2 separate regions of the Homo sapiens genome follow, and region 1 is linked to region 2. Evidence: promoter capture Hi-C in human tissues and cell types (Jung and others, 2019). All regions are on one chromosome and are shown on one strand. Each heading gives the region's core, a stretch centred on a gene start or on the middle of the fragment in contact. The rest is flanking DNA. Distances are from core to core; before and after follow the strand shown.

Region 1 (6,940 bases), core at 3,635-6,134, 1.3 Mb after region 2:
TTTCAGGAGTGAATTTTAATCAAACCAAGATGGCACTTGGGTTCAAATATTTCCAAGAAACACATCAAGTGCCAAGAAAGTTGGCGTCTCCAAAGGTCCAGCCATCACTATGGTGACTCACTATTCACTTAGTCAACTCTGCGGTGAATTATCTCAGGCATCTCGACAGTCCGGGGTGGGGTAGTGGGTGTGGATGGTGACTCAGAAAGATGGTGGCCTTGAGTCAACAATTTTGTTTTTCAAAGCACTGGGATTCCCCCAGAGCCCTTCATGCACATGATGGATATGAACCCTGGGACAATATGACCTTCTTAGAATTTAAAGCTTCCATTTCTTTGCCAGATCTAGGTCAAGAACAAATAATTTGTAATCTCTGCTAAATGATAATATTAAACATAAACGTTTTTGCTTCTCTAAAAATTTCTACTTAACATTGCTACTTAGTAGGGTTGGCTTATGGCTCCCCAATTCCTGCTATCTGACTTTACATGGCTCTATAAGGAGGTAAATAATATATAGGCTGTTTATACTCCAAAGAATTTAACAAAAATCTATCACAAGTTGCTCTTCTATTTTGAACTCAAAGTGTGAAAACAAAGAAGATGGATATCTTTGTCCGTTTGCTTTTTCTCAGCTTCTTCATTATTGTCTTGTTTTTTCCTTTTAATTTTTTCTTTCCTTGTTTAGAGAAGGACATATGTACATTAATAAGTACTGTAGCATTTCCCAGGTTTAGCCGATACAAGTTGAGTGTTGACTGGAATCGTAAGAGAGAATTGGAGAAGAATCTGAACAGAAACCTCTACCCCATCTGTCCTTTATTCTTTCAAAGATAGATCCCATGAATGTGGTGGGGAGAGGCAGAGGGAGAGGGTGGAGGAGAAAATGAGTATTTGTGTATGTGTATGCACATGTGTGTGTGTGTGTGTGTGTGTATAGAAGGTAGTGAAACAGGTAGAAAGGACGGTCTTCTTTTAAAGATGGTCAGAGACTTGGTAAGTCACAGCTGGAAACTATGCAAAGAATGAATTAACATGAATGCTTTTAGGTTGCATGATGTTGCTGATGGGTTTGCTTCTGTCTTTATACATCGACTGAGAAATCATAGCAAATCTCACTTAATGTTTCTCACACAGGGATGTGATCCAACAAGAGAGAGCACAACTAAGTCGTATTATAAGGATTAGGGTAGATTTAAGGGTAAAACTCCTCCACAACCGGAGAGCTTCATGGGAAGAAAATACTGTGATCTGGCTTTTAAATTTTTATCTTATTCACATCTAGTTAAACTAAACTATAAAGGAAGAAATTATAAGAGCACGTATTAAGCAATAGAAAAAAGGTCAAAGTAATAAAGTTGTACTTTTCAGTTTTCAAAAACGCTAGCATCATTTCGATTTCTACACACTGTGAAAGAAATTTAGCTTTGCCCCTTCCTTAAGAGAAATTTCAGTCCCTTGTCACTGCATGCAGCCTCAAATAGCCTGAACAAGAGATGAAGATCACGGGTCTAGGCTCAGACCTTGAAGTAATTGTTTTCCAGTCCTGTCACCATCTACCAGCTCCTAAGATGAAAAGAAGGGAATAAAGTGAAATCTTCTTCTGGTACAGCCCTGAAGCATGAGAGAAAGGAATTCAGGCTGAAGCCTGACACAGAGACAAACAGTCCATTTAGACAGAGCCTGTGTGCTGTTTAAATGCTCTCTTTTCTTCTCTGAACCTCTGTATTATTAAGTATGAAGACACCAGTACTGCTGGAGGAAAGAAAAGGAGTGACTTGACCTCTGAGAACACAGATGAGCTAGTGCTACATACTTAGTATATAAAATATTTACATTCAGCTGGGAAAAACTGGTCAGAAGTAAAAATATAGAATTTTTTGAAATTTTAATTTTGAAGTGATGAAACATAAATGTCTTTGGCAAATGTTATTTTCTCTTAAACTTAACAATATATGGAGAGATATTCCATGTTCATGGATAAGAAGACTCAATTTTGTCAAGATGTCAGTTTTTCCCAACTCGATCTATAAATTCAATGCAGTTCCAAAGTCCCTGCAAAATATTTTGAACATATTGACAAACTGATCATAAAGTTTACATGGAGAGTCAAAAGACCCAGAATAGCAAACACAACACTGAAGGGGAAGAAAAAAGTTGGAGGACCAACACCACTCAACTTCAAGACTTACTATAAAGCCTCAGTAATCAAGATTGTGTGGTACTAGTAAAAGAATAAACAAATAGATCAATGAAATAGAGAGCTCAATAGTAGATTCATATAAATATAGTCAACTGATCTTTGACAAGGAGCAAAAGCAATAGAATGAAGAAAAGATACTGCTTTCAACAAATGGGTGCTGGAATAACTAGACACTCACATGTGAAAAAAAAAAAAAAGATCCAGGTACAAATCTTCCACCATTCACAAAAATTAACTCAAAATGGATCACAAAGACCTAACTGTAAAATTCAAAACTATAACACTCCTAGAAGATAACGTAGGAGAATATTTAGATTATTTTGGGTTTGATGATTAGTTTTTAGATGTAACAGCAAAGGCAATATCCTTGAAAGAAATAACTAACAAGCTGGACTTCACTGAAATTAAAAACTTCTGTAAAAGACACTGTTAAAAGAATGAGAAGACAAACTACGAATGGGAGAAAATATTTGCAAAAGACATGTCTGATAAAGGACTGTTACCCAAAATATGCAAATAACTCTTAAAACTCAACCATAGGAAAACAAACAACCAGATTAACAAATGGGAAAAAAATCTAAATAGATACCTCACCAAAGAAGATATACAGATAGAAAATAAGCATATGGAAATATGCTGAATATCTAATTTGCAAATCCCTAATGATGGGATTTGCAAATTAAAACAAAGTGACACTATTACACATCAATTAGGATGGCAAAAACCCAAGCACTGACAACATCAAATGCTGGCAAGGATATGAAGCAACAGGAAGTCTCATTCATTGCTGGTGGAGATGCAAAATGGTGCAGCCACTTTGGAAGACAGTTTGGAGGTTTCTCATAGAACTAAACATACTCTTACCATGTGATAAAGCAATCATGCTCCTTGATACTCAAATGAGTTGAAAACTTATGTCCAAACAAAAGCCTGCACATGGATGTTTATAGCACTTTTTTATAACTGCCAAGATGTGGAAGCAACCAAACTGTCCTCCAGTAGATGAATAGATAAGTAAACTGTGGCATGCCCAGGTAATGGAATATTATTTGGCACTAAAAAGAAAAAAGCTTTCAAACCATAAAAAGACATAGAAGAATCTTTTTCTTTCCTTCCTTCCTTCTTTCTTTCTTTCCTTCCTTCCTTCCTTCTCTCTCTCTCTCTCTTTCTTTCTTTCTTTCTTTCTTTTCTTTCTTGCTTTCTTTCATGCTTTCTTTCTTGCTTTCTTTCTTTCTTCTTTTTCTTTCAGATGGAGTCTTGCTCTGTCACCCAGGCTGGAGTGCAGTGGCACGATCTCTGCTCACTGCAACATCTGCCTCCCTGGTTCAAGCGATTCTCCTGCCTCAGCCTCCCGAGTAGCTGGGATTACAGGCATCCGCCACAATGCCTGGCTAATTTTTGTATTTTTAGTAGAGACGGGGTTTCACCATCTTGGCCAGGCTTTTCTAGAACTCCTGACCTCGTGATCCGCCTGCCTTAGCCTCTCAAAGTGGGATTACAGGCATGAGCCACCACGCCCAGCCAGAAGAATCTTAAATGTATATTGCTAAATGAAAGAAGCAAATCTGAAAAGGCTACATAGCGTATGATTACAACTAGATGACATTCTGGAAAAGGCAAAACTATGAGACAGTAAAAACTTACAGGTTGCCAAGGACTGGGCAGTGAGAGTGACGAAGAGACAGCACACAGAGGATCTTCAGGGCAGGGAAACGATTCTGTATGATAGTGTAATGGTGGACATATGTCATTATGTATTTGTCAAAACCGAGAGAATGGACCACACCAAGAGTAAATTTTAACATAATCTATTAACTTTGGGGATAGTGATGTGTCAATGTAAGTTCATCAATGGTAGCAAATGTGCCACTCTGGAGGGGGATGTTGATAATTGGGGTGGCTGTGTGTGGGAGGGCAGGGATGATGTAGGAACTCTGTACTTTCTGCTGTGAACCTACAACTGCTCCAAAAAAATAAATTCTTCTGAAAAATATATCTAGTTGTCCCTCAGCTTCTATGGGGGACTGGTTCAAGGACCTCCTACAGATACCAAAATCCACAGATGCTCAAGTCCCTGAAATAAAATGGGGTAGGATTTGCACACAGCCTGTGCACATCCCCGCTGTGTACTTTAAATCATTTCGTGATGACTTATAATACCTAATACAAGGTAATGTTATGTAAATAGTTGTTCTGCTGTATTGGTTTTTAATTTTTTAACTGTTGTATTGTTCTTTCTTATTGGTTTTATTCCCAAGTATCCCTAGTTGGTTGAATCCTTGGATGCGGAACTGGAAGAGATGAAGGGCCGACTGTATACACTTAAAGACTTCAGTAATATATCTTTTCCTTTAAAGTTTAATATTGGCTTATTTCAAAGAAACACAAGCTCATTTCCCCCGTTCGTGATGGAATAGGAAGTTTGCTCCACATTTCAGCCCCTTTCTTGGGGTGGACACTGGCTGGGTACGTGGGGCCTGGGCTCTTAAAACCAGCATTTCCAGCTTCGGGGGAAGGAACCAGGAGAGTGAGGGAAAGGCCGCCCCAGGGAGAAGAAGTGGGGAGTTTCCATCTGTGAAGAGGCGAGATGACTACGGGAGGACCCCAGACACCTTCCCTGTCAGCTTCGCATGTGAAACCCTGAGCCACTCATTCAATAACTGCTGGTGCTGCTGGAGCAGGCCCATCGCGGCACTGTCAGAGGCCACCTGACAGCTAAGAAAGCCCCAGTCCTGCTGGGGAGGCAAGGCCCTAGAGGGAGGGGACAGAGGCCCTAGTGGGAGGGGACAGAGGCCCTAGTGGGAGGGGACAGAGGCCCTAGAGGGAGGGGACAGAGGTCTTAGTGGGAGGGGACAGAGGCCCTACGAGGGAGGGGACAGAGGGCCTAAGAGGGAGGGGACAGAGGGCCTAAGAGGGAGGGGACAGAGACCCTACGAGGGAGGGGACAGAGGCCCTAGTAGGAGTGGACAGAGGCCCTAGAGGGAGGGGACAGAGGCCTCAGTGGGAGGGGACAGAGGCCCTAGAGGGAGGGGACAGAGGCCTCAGTGGGAGGGGACAGAGGCCCTAGAGGGAGGGGACAGAGGCCCTAGTAGGAGTGGACAGAGGCCCTAGAGGGAGGGGACAGAGGCCTCAGTGGGAGGGGACAGAGGCCCTAGAGGGAGGGGACAGAGGCCCTATGAGGGAGGGGACAGAAGCCATAGAGGGAGGAGACGGAGGCCCTATGAGGGAGGGGACAGAGGCCCTAGAGGGAGGGGACAGAGGCCCTATGAGGGAGGGGACAGAGGCCCTAGAGGGAAGTGATGGGGCAAAGCCCTACAGAGAGGAGATGGGAACCTGGCATTGATGGAAAAGCGGAGCTGTTTTGACACCAAGGACATTCCACGGGGAAATAAAAAAACAACTGTTAATATTTTTCATGTTATTCACCTACGGAGTGGCTCAGTCCAGGCAAGGTCTCCCTTCCAGGGTGGGAGTCCAAGGTCTCCCTTCCAGAGCGAGTACAGCGAGGATGGAGGGAAGGGTGAGGGGGTTCATGGTCTCTTGCTTTAATAGGGCCATTGGAACCAGCTCCCCCTGGTTCTTTAATAGGGTCACTGGAGGGGCCTCCCCTCTCTGAGTCTTCCTCCCTGTCCCTCCACACCCCAAACTGCCTCCACCATATCCTCCTCCTCTATGAACTGAGCAGGACAACATCCTCACTGAGCCGGAGCAAAGAACACGGACGCATCTCCTGGGCTCCTGACTCAGGATCCAGGCTTGGAGGCTGAAAGGGGACACTCTCCTCTTAAACCAGTTTCATGACTATGAGGTGAATTAATGCCATCAAGTCCACCTGAAAATCTGAGCCAAGGATCAGTGTGTGTGTGACTGACCCTAAATATATGAAGAACCAATTAAACACACATAGGCACACACTTAAAGACACACACACACTCTCATAGACACACACACACAGACACGCTCTCATAGATGCACACTCAGCACACACACTCATAGATACACACACAGTCTCATGGACACACTCTCATAGACACAGACACACTCATACAGATATACTCTCACAGACACACTCAGAAACACACTTATAGATACACACACTTTCATAGACACACACACTCATACAGACACATACACTCATAGATACACTTTCACAAACACACACTGTCAATGGTACACACAGACATTCTCTTATAGATACACAATCTCATGGACACACGCAATCGTACTGAAACACACACAGTCCTCTTTCACAGTGAAATGTAGCAAAGAAATTATTGCCCCAAATTAAACAGAAGCTCCTCCCCTGCGGCTCAGAAATTGCAGTGAGGCTTAAGATGAGCGGCTTTTCCTCACCCGATTAGTCGACACAAAAGACAGGTATTTATGGGCAGCAGGAATAGCACGATAGTAAGTAGAAGCATATACAGGTTCCTACAGAGCAAAGCAAGAGGATTTAAGATGAAGAGAAGATTTATCAGAGCGGGGCCGGGCAGGGACGTGGGGGAGGGAGAGACAAAACAATGATTTTTCTAACAGAATGTTAATTTACTCATTGCAATTTCAGTTCTCTTTTCAAGAGAGTCCTCCCTTGAATGCTAATGCTAAAGTAAATCCACACAAGCGCGGTAAATATACCTGAGTCAGCTTTGTGCAGTAATTAAATGAGTTAATTTATAGAAGATTGTCAGTTACAGAGAGAGGAACCATGACTTTCATTGACAGTTTTAACATTAAACAG
Region 2 (7,209 bases), core at 4,702-7,201:
TTGAGAGGCTGAGACACGAGAATTGCTTGAATCTGGGAGGTGGAGGTTGCGGTGAGCCGAATTGCACCACTGCATTTCAGCTTACACGATGGAGAGAGACTCCTCCATCTCAAAAAAAAACCCTACAGTTTTAATAGTAACTATTAAGAATATATTTTCTTTTTTAAATTTTTTTTTGAGATGGAGTCTCACACTGTTGCCCTGGCTGGTGTGCAGTGGCGTGATCTCGGCTCACTGCAACCTCCGCCTCCCGGGTTCAAGCGATTCTCCTGCCTCAGCCTCCCAAATAGCTAGGATTACAGGGGCCCACCATCACACCTGGCTAATTTTTTGTATCTTTAGTAGAGACAGGGTTTCACTATGCTGGCTAGGCTGTTCTCGAACTCCTGACTTCGTGATCTGCCTGCCTTGGCCTCCCAAAGTGCTGGCATTACAGGCGTGAGCCACTGTGCCCGGCCAAGAATAGATTCTTATTAATCAGTATGCCAGAATAGTTGAGGAGTTTTGGAAAAAGAGAGTTTAGCATAGAGAAGGATAAAGGGGAGGAGGAGGAAGGGGATGGAAAGGTTTTGGGGAAGAATGAGTCCCAGGTAGCTTTGTGACAGTACTTTGCAGTGAGGCAATCTTTGAGTCTTGAATGTGAGTCTTTGAGCCTCAAGATACCAATTGAGATATCTGTCCTATTTGGACTGTATGATTTCATAGATGTGGCCCTTTACTTTAGTTTTAAGAAAAACGGACTTTTTTAATGATCCCTATAATGTTTGAACACGTCAGCTGGAGTCTCAGAAGGGGGAATTATTTTGGCATGCCTTTGAACTTTGAGAGCCCATTTGTAAATAAATTTAGCTGACTTGGTTTAATGACAAATACACAAAAACTTATATATATATATATATATATATATATATATATATATGAGATGGGGTCTCACTATGCTGCCCAGCTGGTCTTGAACTCCTGGGCTCAAATGATCGGCCTGCCTCAGCCTCCTAAAGTGCTGGGATTACGGGCATGAGCCATGGCGCCTGGCCACAAAAACCAATTTAAAATCCAAGTGTGCAAATGAATCAGAAAATAAAGTATGTACTCCCCAAGAGGGATAATAAGCCTTCTTTAACAAAAGAGAGAAAAAAATCCCTTTTAAACAGGAGTCCTCATAACCAGGAAGAAAAACGTATTCATCTTAACCAAGTCTATAGCAAGGAGGGAGAAAGTTCCCCTAAACAGAAGATTTCATAGCTGGTAGCGGGGAAGGATGCCTCCCAACCAATTCCCAAATAAAACTGAACTAAACCAAAAGAAAAAATATGAGTTCAAGCCAACAGAGACTCACCATGGGGAAAAGAGGTGGCTCGTAGAAGTTTGGGGGCTCAAGAGGCCTGAATTTGGGTACTTCATGCCACATTCCAGGTGCTAATTCTCCAAGGTGAGCCTGCTTTGGATCCCACTTCTGACTTCAAGTATGTAGAAATCAAAATAAAATATAGAGATGAATCTCTAAACATCTTATTTGGGAATCACAGAATTGGAATTTGGGATATATATATATATATATATATATATATATATATGCACATACAGGTGGTCTTTGGTATGCTCAAAGAACAAAAAGAAGGTTGGTAGTTTATTAGAAGGAGAAATGTTATGTTTTGTTTTAAAAGAAAGCTCACTGCTACTGGAGAAGCTTTGGGGAGCTGGCAAACTCTGATTGCTGAAGACAGCAGTAGGTAACACTAGTCTATGAGTCACAGTAGGTCATTTCAGCAGCTACTAGGTAAAACTATTCTTATGGTTACAGCAGGCTGTTTTAGCAGCTGGGCTTGCAGAAAATTTAATTTTTGGAGCTGGTGCTATGTGCCCTGAGTGATTTTTCCCCCCACTCCTGGACTCTTTGAGTTAGTTGGGTATGACAAGAATGTCCTAATTTGTATAATCAACTATTACAAGTACTAATTATTATTATTATTTTTTGAAACAGGGTCTCCCTCTGTTACCCAGGCTGGAGTGCAATGGCACCATCTTGGCTCACTGCAACCTCTGCCTCTCGGGTTCAAGCAATCCTCCTGCCTCAGCCTCCTGAGTAGCTGGGACTACAGGCGTGCACCACTATGTCCAGCTAATTTTTTGTATTTTTAGTACAGATGGGGTTTCACCATGTTGGCCAGACTGGTCTTGAACTCCTGACCTCAGGTGACCCACTTGCCTAAGCCTCCCAAAGTGCTGGGATTGCAGGTGTGAGTCACCACACCTGACCACAAGTACTAATATTTGTCTTTAATAATAGTTAAAACTGATCATATGAATTTATATAGTGAAAGCAGTGAGATTTCACAAGAAAATATTAATAAATCTCCTAAAACCCTTAAAGATGTGTTATGCAAATCTGACTGCTATTGTACTCATTATTCTCTTTGAGATTTCTGGAAATTAAGCCCACAAATAAATATAATCAAATACTGAAACATATCAGACAAAATCATTTACAGGGCATCTGTGTAACCCATGGAAACAAGAAGCAGTTGATATTACAAAATGGGTGAGTGAACAGATACACGAGAAACATATGCCTTTAGCGTTTTTCCCAAAATATATTTTGTTGACCTTAATTAACAGACAAATGATCCATGAAATTCTAATTTTATTGTTTAAAATGGAGGATCCAATTTGTTAAAACTTGTTCAAGGAAGGCTCTACTAAACTTGAAGAAAAATAGAGTACTTCTGAAAATTTATATACATTTGATAAAATGTATACTAAGCCTCAAAATAAATGTACCTGGATTTTAAATTATTACGGTAAGAAACAGACATCATTCAATCTGAACAAAAACTCTGAGGTTTTCAAAAGTTTGCCTATGAGCACTAGCTTACCTGATTTTATTTATTTATTTATTTATTTATTTATTTGAGACATGGTCTCACTCTGTTACTCAGGCTGGAGTGCAGTGTCACAATCTTGACTAACTGCAACCTCCACCTCCTGGGTTGAAGTGATCCTCCTACTTCAGCCTCTGGAGTAGCTGAGACCACAGGCACACACCACCATGCCTGGCTATTTTTTTTTTTTTGTATTTTCATTAGAGATGGGGTCTTGCCATGTTGCCCAGGTTGGTCTTGAATTCCTGAGCTCAAGCAATCTGCCCGCCTCAGCCTCCCAAAGTGCTGGGATTATAGGCATGAGCCACTGCACCCAGCCTCCTTGATATGTTTATTTTACTCAGGTAAACTTTTATAAAACAGAAGAAGCCTGAATGTTTTAATAACAACAACAACAACAAAAAGATGCCAGAAAAATTTTAAACATTTTCACTATTTGAATAGATAAAACATTCTGAAATTTTGAATATCAAAAAGTTTAAATATGAATACAATGAAGTCTATTTCTTATGCTTTCCATCTACTGTGTTCTCATACCTCATGTTACTTTGTCCTAGTTTAATGCATATACAATTTAATACAATATTCTGTACCGTATTTCTGTGTTTTTCACTTAACAAAAAAATCTTGGAGATCTTAATGTTAAAACAAAGAACTTTCTGTTTTTTTGATTAACAGCTGCACAATGTTCAAACATATGGCTCTATCATAATTTAACTAGTATCCTGTTGATAGATACTTAGCTTGTTTCCAATCTTTTGCTATTCTCAACAATAAGAAACACCTTGTTATTTCTTATGTGTGGAAACATCTGTGGCATAAATCCCTGGAAATGAAATTCAAGGCTCCGAGTATATATGCATTTGTAATTTTAATACATACTGCCAAATTCCTGTTTCTTTATAGCCCAGCCAAAGTAGTGATGCCAGATATAATTTTGTTTTTTCATTTAAAAATATATAATGAAAAGTAGGTTACTTATTAAAGAACTAGGAAGAAAGTAGGACAAGTTTATGCAAAGTACAGACTACATTTTCACCTAAAAATACATTTAACAGGAATCTATTGTGCATCTACCGTATGCCAAGTGCTTTTAGGCACTTGGGATATACACACAAACAAATCAGACTCAAATCTCTGCCTGTGTGTGGAGCTTATATTTCAGTTCTACATTTTGGAACTCTCTGCTACTTCATAAGAAGCCAGTTAAATGTCAAAATCCTGAAAATGATCTGTTGAAATCCTGAGCACAGGCGCCAGACATATGCTACAAGTGTTATTTAAAAACTAACTAGAGGCAGTGTTACATATGATCATAGCTCTCCATCAGGTTCTTTTAAAACAACACACTAGCGAGAAAGCTCTTTTTATCCGCCTCCATCTGCTGTTGGTGGTGATCAGCATACTGTGGGCATTGTGGTATCATCCGAGATTAGGCTGTGAAATAGGAAGTGGGGTTACAGGCAGATCCGCAAGTGTATGCAAACTGTTGAGTTCTATCTCTTGCTAAAACCAAGGGTGCCCAATTCAGGTTTGGAGAGTAGGGAAAGTAAGGTTATCAGCGCATTCCTATCAGGGTCGTTTTCTTTTTTGCACTGCTCTTGTTCTGGTTTTATAAGGAGAACACAAGCAGAGTCTATGGAAAATAGTTGCCAAAGCATACAGGAAATACTCCTTATACTGAACAAATGCAAGAAAACAGAACGGGTTAGAAACCGAGGGAGACAAAAAGGCAGTGGGTGCCAAGGACTGTGAAAAGCAAATGCAACGATAGAGACAGCACAGTCTCAGGCTTATTTTTCAAAAATTCTCATTGTAAGCCTCTTTCCTTTCTAAATGGAGACTATCTTAACACTTTAGCTCGCATTAGACTTAATTTAATAAGAAGGTTGTAAACCACAGCTGTTAAAGTCTTGCCACTGCCCTACCGGATTCTTCGCATCCTGTAAGGCACAATTCGGAGTTCAGCTGGTTGATAAGGAAGCCAGGCATTGTGGCATCTTCAAGTACGAAGTGAAGCACAGGAAAGAGCCAACTCCGGAGAGTAGCTCTTCATTGCTTGAATCATACATATGCTTGTTTTTTCCCCCCTCTCCTTTCTGGTCTCTATTATTAACAAATATTTCATCCTGGCACAACAGGCACAATCAACAACTGGTTAAGGAATGAGTAGTTACTGAAGTCCCAACGCCTCTCAGTTATTTTTCTCACACTCACTGTATTCTAGACCTAGAAGCCAGCTCTCATTTGAAAGCTGAGGTTCAGAAGGGTGAAGTGCCAATAAATGGCAGAAGCCAGGTCTCTTTCCTGATTCCCATTCCAGCTGAGCTCCTCCTGCCACTGGATCACCATCAAAGACCTGCCAAAGCTGTTACTTCCGGGTTCGGTGCTGCCACAGTGCAAACGGGGATGACTTTGGACAATGACCCTGTGGCCCCCGCAGGGCTCGCACCCTCAGGCCCGTGGAAGGCTAAATGCTGACGGACTGGTTCTGCCCTGGAGCGGCTCTCCGCGTCCCAGGGGTCTCCTCAGTCCCGAGTGTGCACAGCGGGTCCTGCCACGTACCCTGGCGACCCCAGCAATGGACTCAGTGCCCCGGGTCCCTTTCCGTCTCCCTCAGGCGGCGTGCAGCACTTTTTCGGGTGTCCCAGTGGAATTTCCGGGCCCGTGAACGACTGACCCACGCCCGGCCGCAGCTCCAGGGGCCGACGAAGGGAGCGCTAGGGCCCACGGCAGGGCCGTCTTTGCCCGGGCTCCATTCCTGCCACCCTGGCGCTATGTCCGCCCTTCCCTGGTTTTCCCTACGAGCGTTTTTTTAACGCTTCCCACTCCTTGTTTACAAAGTGCTGAGCCCCCTTGACCGCAGGCTCCCGCGCCGGCCCGAGTTCCCACACCGTACGCTGGCTGCCCCCTATTCGGATCCCCGCCGGGCGCCGCACCCCCTAGCCACCCCAGACCGTCCCGGAGACCCGCGCCCGCCCAGCTCGCCCGGGCCATCACGTGAGCCTCCCGCCCCGCCCCCGCGCGTCACGTGAGCCCCGCCCCCGCGCCGGCGCGCTCCGACGTGCCCTGTAACTTACCCTCCCTCAGAGGCCAGCCTGCGGGGACGGGCCGGCCGCGGCCGTAGCCGTGTGAACGCTCTTCGGGCTCGCGTCGTCGACCCGCAGCCGCGGGGCGGACTAAGAAGGGAGCCGCCTGCTGCGAGGCCGCCGGGCTCCCGGTGAGGTGCAGGGCGCGGGTCCTGGCGGACGGAGGGCAGGTTGGCGAGGCGCTGCACAAAGGCGCGCCGGGGCCGGGCTGTGCCCGCCGAGGGCGGTGGAGTCGGGGGGAGGCGTGTGCGGGAGGCGCGGCGGCGGCGGCGGCGGCGCCGCGGAGGTGCGCGCAAAGGGAGGTCGGGCGCGCAGCGAGGGGCTCTGGGCGCGGGGGTTAGGCGCCGAGGGGGAGGGGGCCGGCGCAGCCTATTGGCTGACGTGGGCGAGAGGGTTTAAATGGCCCGAAGTTGTGGCTTCTCTGCCCCCTGGGTTTCCTGACTTCCTGTGTGAGGGCAGCGCCCGCCCGCCCCGCCCCCAGGGAGGAGAGTGTGAGGGTGCGCGGGTGTGTGTGTGAGTGCGGGAGAGTGCGCGCGTGTGTGCACAAGGCGGGTGTGTGCGTGTCTATGTGCAAAAGGCGGGTGTGTGCGCGCGCGTGTGTCTGCAAAAGGCGGGTGTGTGTGTGTGTGTGTGTGTGTGCGCAAAAGGCCGGCCCGGCCCCTCCCGCGCCCTGGGCCCACTCCCTAATCGCGGTGGGGCTTGCAGGCCTCCACCCACCCGGGGAGCCCACCCGGGGAATCCACCTGGGGCGTCCCTCGAGGACTGTTGACCTTAAACCGGACACTTTCTTCTTTGCGGTCTTTCCCGGTGCCCTGCCCCTGCTGGATGGACGTGCATTCGCTCCCCTCCAGCTTATCTGGGCGGAATCTCCTCAAAGTCCTTGAATTGAAAAATCCTCTTTACCAGCGTGCAGCCCGCCTCCCATCTCAGGGGAGCTGGTTGTCTTCTCAGAACGGCTGTCCTTTACGCGTTGCTATCTTAAGTGACTGCAGACCCTTTGAGAAGAAATGGCCACACGGTCTTCGTTAGAGAAAAAGGCACGCCCTTCAGCTTTCGAGGCGTGTGATGTTTTCCTTTTGACTGCAGCTGCAGTTTTGTAAATGTATTTTCAAAGGCTAAAGCACGACGTTGAAAGTACACCTTTATCGAAAGTTTTAATGTCATCCCAAGTGGAGTGTTTGTTGTGGATAGAGGCTTTTAGCACTCTAATAACACGATTGGTTGTGGCTGGCTTTTGGGTT

Evidence for each region. Contacts are between HindIII fragments. The study calls those that stand out against the background at their distance.
Region 1: a fragment that was not itself captured here is called in contact with the fragment with the promoter of ARHGAP12 in region 2 in 1 of the 25 tissues and cell types used here (dorsolateral prefrontal cortex).

The regions. Positions count from the first base shown.
Region 1 is chr10:30,675,821-30,682,760 of GRCh38, reverse strand. No RefSeq gene overlaps it. Among named protein-coding and RNA genes, the nearest start is that of LINC02644, 44 kb to the left of the region's middle. RefSeq lists enhancers at 190-329, 1-839. The HindIII fragment of the contact is 6,171 bases long and covers 1,799-6,940 here.
Region 2 is chr10:31,927,573-31,934,781 of GRCh38, reverse strand. ARHGAP12 (Rho GTPase activating protein 12) reads left to right here and starts at 5,951. Exons shown (of 20, transcript NM_018287.7): 1 at 5,951-6,099. It overlaps LOC107984219 (a long non-coding RNA gene), which reads right to left. Exons shown (of 3, transcript XR_001747415.2): 1 at 6,739-7,209; 2 at 5,960-6,120. RefSeq lists a silencer at 5,780-6,279. The HindIII fragment of the contact is 14,818 bases long and covers 1-7,209 here.